Linked DNA regions of Homo sapiens: region 2 is linked to region 1. Evidence: promoter capture Hi-C in human tissues and cell types (Jung and others, 2019). All regions are on one chromosome and are shown on one strand. The core of a region is centred on a gene start or on the middle of the fragment in contact, and the rest is flanking DNA. Distances in the headings are between cores, read along the strand shown.

Region 1 (2,806 bases), core at 38-2,537:
CCATTAAATCTGAATTTAAAGTTCAAAATATCTCAACTGACAGAATAATGACATAGCTGCATTTTGGCATGAACAAGCAGTGACAGCCACGTCACCACCCACGCAGATGCCCAGCAGCTGGCAAGTTCCTTGGAACCACACTGGGAAGATGCATCTTGGTTTCAGAAATGTTAAAATTGGGGAAGAGGGTATGTCTTCAAATGGTGTAAATTTAGTATAATGAGGACTACTGCAGAATAGTAATAGGCAAATTTGGAAACAACTCAAATCCATCATCTCAACCAAACCCTAGAATCTGAGCAGGTGCTTTGACCGTGACCAGGTCCAAAGTATACGGCACTCCAAGAACAGTCGGAGCTACGTGGGAAGGGAGCTGGCCCAACTTTTTGAAGTTTGTTGGAGAAGGATGGGTATGTGACTTATAGGCGTGTGTGTGTGTGTGTGTGTGTGTGTGACTATATGCAGAGACAGGAGCTGCGTGTGTTCTAGGAATTGGAGCTTGTGAGAAATATCCCACCCCTGAATACATAAAAAGTCTTGTTACCAAAGTGCACGAATTTTCGAATCTTACTCGGGAAACAGTTAATGGCTGAGAAGCTTCATATCGAAGATGCCCCACCCTCACAGTGCTCCCAGACATGCCACCCTCGGACTCAAAGACTGCACACAGACTCCTACTCACCACATCGGCCTTGGACCCAGGTAGGACCAGAGACGGGGGCGTGGGAGTGCTCACTCTTGAGGTTTTCAGCGGTAAAGAGTGTCTCTTTAGAGACGGACTGAGTGGTAACAGATATTGTTCCCTCCCGGCCTTTTATAGACAGACCACATCTCCACTCAACGCAATCATTCTCCAAGAAGCGTCCAGCGTTGAGGTCGGCTTCCTTCGGAAGCCCGGAGGACCCTCGGCCTCCGGAGTGGACGAGGGTCTGCTCCACATTCCCATCAAGGGCCCGCCCAGGCGGGTGGGCTTTCCCAGCAGCGCCCCCAGGAGCGAGGCTTTGAGGGCCGGAATGGGAGGGATGCCCTGAGCCGGCGTCTTGCAGACCCCGGGGAGGATACACCTCCCTGGCTGCCGCTTTAACACGGGGCTGGCGGCTGCAGCCAAGCCCACCCAGCCTGGCCTCTTAGGCCGCAGCCGGGTGTCTCGCCTGGCCTCTGCCTCCGGCCGCGCCCTCCCGGCCGCTTGCACCGCCGGCCGCTCTCGCTGCAGCCCTGGCGGTCCCGGGGCCCACCCCACGCGGTCCCGCTGCAGCTGCCACAACCCGCGCGTCTTCCGGCGGGTTGTGAGCCCCGGCCGCCGGCTCCGCCCACAGGGGGCTGCCACGGAGCCCGCCCTCTCCCGGGAAGCAGCGCGCGCCCTCGAACCCGGAAGCTGGAAGCCGCCCGAGCGCGCCCCCGAGGGCCGTCCGGAACCGTGGGTAGCGGCCACCCACCCACGCCGCCCCCCGTTTCCTCACAGCGGTCCTTGGGAGACCTCCTTCAGCCTTTCCGGTGAAGCGCCTTCCCTGTCATTCATTCATTCACTCATTCATTCATTCATTCATTCAGTTATCTATTCTGAGTGTGTAAGATCTACCCCCACATTCTTATTGGCCCTGCGTATACAGCAGTTAACAAAACGCAGTTCCTGCTTTCTTGGAACTTAATTACATTGAAATTAATTGACAATAACAAATAGAAAAATAAATAGATAATACCCCAGGCGATTGTGAGGACCATGAAGAAAAGGAAAGCAGGGTGGGGAGATGATGGGCTAGGATATTTGTATCAACCCACTGTAGAAAACAACAATAAAATTTAAAAATAAAATTCTGGAATACGTGTGTGTGTGTGTGTGTGTGTATGTGTATATATATATACATATATATATAATATATAAATTTGTTTTTGAGACGGAGTTTCGCTCTTGTTGCCCAAGCTGGAGTGCAGTGGCGCGATGTTGGCTCACCGCAACCTCTGCCTCCCGGGTTCAAGTGATTCTCCTGCCTCAGCCTCCAGAGTAGCTGGGATTACAGGCACGCATCACCATGCCTGTAATTTTGTATTTTTAGTAGAGATGGGGTTTCTCCATGCCTGAGCGACAAGAGCAAAACTCCATCTCAAAAAAAAAAAAAAAAGAAGAAGAAGAAGAAGACCCTCCTTACAATAACTGGGACCCCAAAGGGCAACAGCCTCAGGGTGAGGATGAATTGAAAATGGAACAGCTTAAAAGGAATTTACAGACTGCATCAAATTGCCTGTCTCAGACATTATCTTGGTTTAAGACTGTCTCTGACTATGGTGTCACCAGATGCTTGGCAAAAGCAAATAGGTGGAGGAAAGCCTTATAATTGTAGGGCCGACATTTTTCCTACACATAAGTTTTCATAGACAATGTCAAATACAGAATTAAAGATAACCAGGTACACAAAGAAACTAGATTCTTAGTGAGAACCAGCAGAAACACAAACATTGGAAATAGACCTGCAGAAACAACTGCTTTTAGAATTATTTGATGCAAACCGCAAAATAATATTTTCTTGGGCTGGACACAGTGGTTTATGTCTATAATCCCAGCACTTTGGGAGGCCAAGGCAGGTGGATTGCTTGAGCTCGGGAGTTCAAGACCAGCCTGGGCAACATGGCAAAACCCTGTCTCTACAAAATATCAAAAATTAGCCAGGTATGGTGGCACAGCCCTGAAGTCCCAGCTCTTCAAGAGGCTGAGATGGGAGGATCGCTTGAGCCCAGCAGGTTGATGCTGCAGTAAGTCACGATCATACCACTGCCCTTCAGCCTGGGTGACAGAGCAAGACCCTGGCTT
Region 2 (3,032 bases), core at 2-2,501, 190 kb before region 1:
CAGGATTCGCTGTATCAGGAGTGTTCCTCTGCTGTCACCTCTGATGACTATTTTCCTCAATTCAGAATCCCCAGCACCTGCAAAAGGCCTGGATAAAGGTAAACCTCAAAAAAGTTTGTTTTATTGAATTTTCCCAAAGGTTTGGCTTTATTACATTAAGAGCTGAGGCCAGGAATGTGGCAGTAAATTCTGGTGCCACCACTTAGAAAGACAAGTCACTTTTTTCAAGCCTCAGTTTCCGTCCATCAAATGGAGATAAGAATACAGTGCACCTACCTCGAAGAGCTGTTTTGAGGGGAAAATGAAATATGCTAGGTTAAGTGTTTAACACAATGCCTGGAACATGGTTAGTTCCCTCAAAAAATTAGCTGTTATTTATTTATTTTTAAATTCTCGCCTTGATGCTCAGAAGGGGCTGAGCAGGAACAGAGGATTGCAGTTCTTAGGATGGCCACGCGAGGGAAGTGGTGAGCAGCCTCCAGGAGGACTTCGGCTCGGCTGTGCCAAGGCACCTGCTGAGGACCCAGATGGCCCGCCTGGGGTTTCCGGGACTTCCCGGCCCCTAAACATGTGGGCGCTGGCCAGAGCGCCGCAGGAGAAGCCTCTGCCAGGTGCTCGGTCTCGACTCTCACAGCCCCAGCCATCCCTCCTGCTCGTCCCCGTCTCGGCTTGGAGGGGCTGGCGGGCAGGAGGGGACAGGGTAGGGGGCAACCAGGATATATCCCCTCCGTTTTGTCATTTGTCTTTCAAACTGACTTATGGCCATTTCTTCTGTATAGAAGCCTTGTAGTCAAACATTTCCATGTTTTCTCTTATGGCTTCTAGGTTTCATCATGCTTAGAAAGTCTTTTCCATCTCCAAGATTATTAAAATATTCACTCATGTCTTTTTTCTGATACATTATGGTGTTAAATATGTGGTCCACCTGGAATTTATTTCAGTGTCGAATAAGGGCACAGCTTTTTGTAATTTCCCCAAAAGACTTGCTGGTTATTCCACCCATTTGATCTCCGCCACCAACCCCCCCCCCCCCGCCCACAACCCCCTACCAACTCCGCCCCCCATTTGTCTGAAGTGCTGTCTTTTATTCATTCATTCATTTAGAGACAAGGTCTTGCTCTGTTGCCCAGGCTGGAGTGCAGTGGCGTGATCACAGCTCACTGCAGCCTTGACCTCCCAGGCTCAGGTAATCCTCCCACTTCAGCCTCCCTGGTAGCTGGGACTACAGGTGTGTGCAATCATGCCCAGATAAATTTTTTTTTTTTTTTTTTTTTTGAGACAGAGTCTTGCTCTGTTACCAGGCTGGAGTGCAGTGGTGCGATCTCAGTTCACTGCAACCTCCGCCTCCTGGGTTCAAGCGATTCTCCTGCCTCAGTCTCCCAAGTAGTTGGGACTACAGGTGCATGCCACCACACCCAGCTAATTTTTGTATTTTTAGTTGAGACAGGGTTTCACCATGTTGGCTAGGATGGTCTCAATCTCTTGATCTTGTGATCCGCCTGCCTCGGCCTCCCAAAGTGCTGGGATTACAGGTGTGAGCCACCGCCCCCGGCCACAAGTTTTGTATTTTTTTATAGAGACAAAGTTTTGCCATGTTGCCCAGGCTAGTCTCAAGTGATCTGCCCGCCTCAACCTCCCAAAGTTTTGGGATTACTGGCATGAGCCACTGTGCCGGGCCTGAAGTGCTATCTTTATCATACATTGAATTCCCTTGTGGGGCTGGATCCATTTCCATACTCCATTTTGTTCCACAGATCGGTCTAGTCCTGCTTCAATACCATACTGCTTTAAATACATTGACTTTATAGTATGTTTTAGTATCGGGTAAGACAAATCCCTTTTCATTACTTTTCTTCCTGGACTTTTTATTCCTGTATGTTTATTCTTCTATATACACTTAAGAATCAACCCCCTCTCCACCCACCTCCCATCCAGTCCTTCTGGTAACCAATATAGAACTTTGAAGATACTGAAATTATATGCAAAATATACATTGCACATCTCCAGAGAGATAGTGCTAAGTTTTCATCAGATGTGCAAAGGGAACCCCTGGTTTACCTGTCTCTGTGAAAGGGGCCAGGGAGGAGCACACAGGAAGCCTGATTCCTCTCTGTGCTCCCACCCCTCACCTCCACCCTCGTTCCAGGTCCTGCCCTGGCCTCCATCCCACCTCCCCTAATCTAGTCCCCCTTGCTGCTCCAGAGTAACCCATTCTACCACCCAGGCCCTAGTCCAGGCCTAGGCCTGAGGTAGAATAGCTGATAACAAAGCTTTAATTAATATGTAAATATAATCAGGAGCCCCAGCTCCACCTCTGACCAGCTATGGAACGCACTTTGAGGCTTTTCACATTGTAGGGCCTCAGTTTATGCTTCTCACAGACCAGGTGAGAAGGGAAGGCGTAGGATGACTATGCCTCCTAGCAATCCCCAGGAGGATCCTTTAATCCCAATAATTTTCCTTTTTCTCCCCACCTTCCCACTCCCCATTTACTTTTTTTTGAGACAGAGTTCCCCCTGTCACTCAGGCTGGAGTGCAGTGGTGCGACCTCGGCTCACTGCAACCTCCGCCTCCTGGGTTCAAGTGATTCTCGTACCTCAGCCTCCCGAGTAGCTGGGACTATAGTTGTGTGCCACCACACCTGGCTAATTTTTGTATTTTTAGTAGAGATGGGGTTTCACCATGTTGGCCAGGTTGATCTCGAACTCCCAGCCTCAAGCAATCCACCCACCTTGGCCTCCCAAAACACTGGTACAGGCATGAGCCACCGCACCCAGCTCCCATTTACATTTTAATTCATGCCCTCAGCAGGGAGACTACTGGTTTTACATGCCTCCAGCAAATATTAATTATTCTGTCCTCTCTGTCAGTGGGTGGAATTCAAAACACTGGAGCCCAAGAGTGGAACTGACCAGTCCTAAGCAAGGTTAAATATACAAGTTGGGGCAGGCACGACCCTAGGAAAGACTTCATACAGTATCCTCCCGGGCTGCAGAAGAACCCAGGACTCCAGGAGTCTATTTGGAAGTTTA

What was found. The method cuts DNA at HindIII sites, captures the fragments that hold promoters and counts their contacts. A contact is called where the count stands out against the background at its distance.
Region 2: a fragment that was not itself captured here is called in contact with the fragment with the promoter of ZFP69 in region 1 in 1 of the 25 tissues and cell types used here (pancreas).

The regions. Positions count from the first base shown.
Region 1 is chr1:40,475,771-40,478,576 of GRCh38, reverse strand. ZFP69 (ZFP69 zinc finger protein) reads right to left here and starts at 1,287. Exons shown (of 6, transcript NM_001320179.2): 1 at 683-1,287. RefSeq lists a silencer at 1,079-1,548. The HindIII fragment of the contact is 19,716 bases long and covers 1-2,806 here.
Region 2 is chr1:40,666,493-40,669,524 of GRCh38, reverse strand. LOC105378675 (a long non-coding RNA gene) reads right to left here. Exons shown (of 2, transcript XR_947238.3): 2 at 1,849-3,032. It also overlaps a transcript of RIMS3 not described here. Among named protein-coding and RNA genes, the nearest start is that of RIMS3, 2.3 kb to the right of the region's middle. RefSeq lists enhancers at 355-404, 465-614. The HindIII fragment of the contact is 3,607 bases long and covers 1-3,032 here.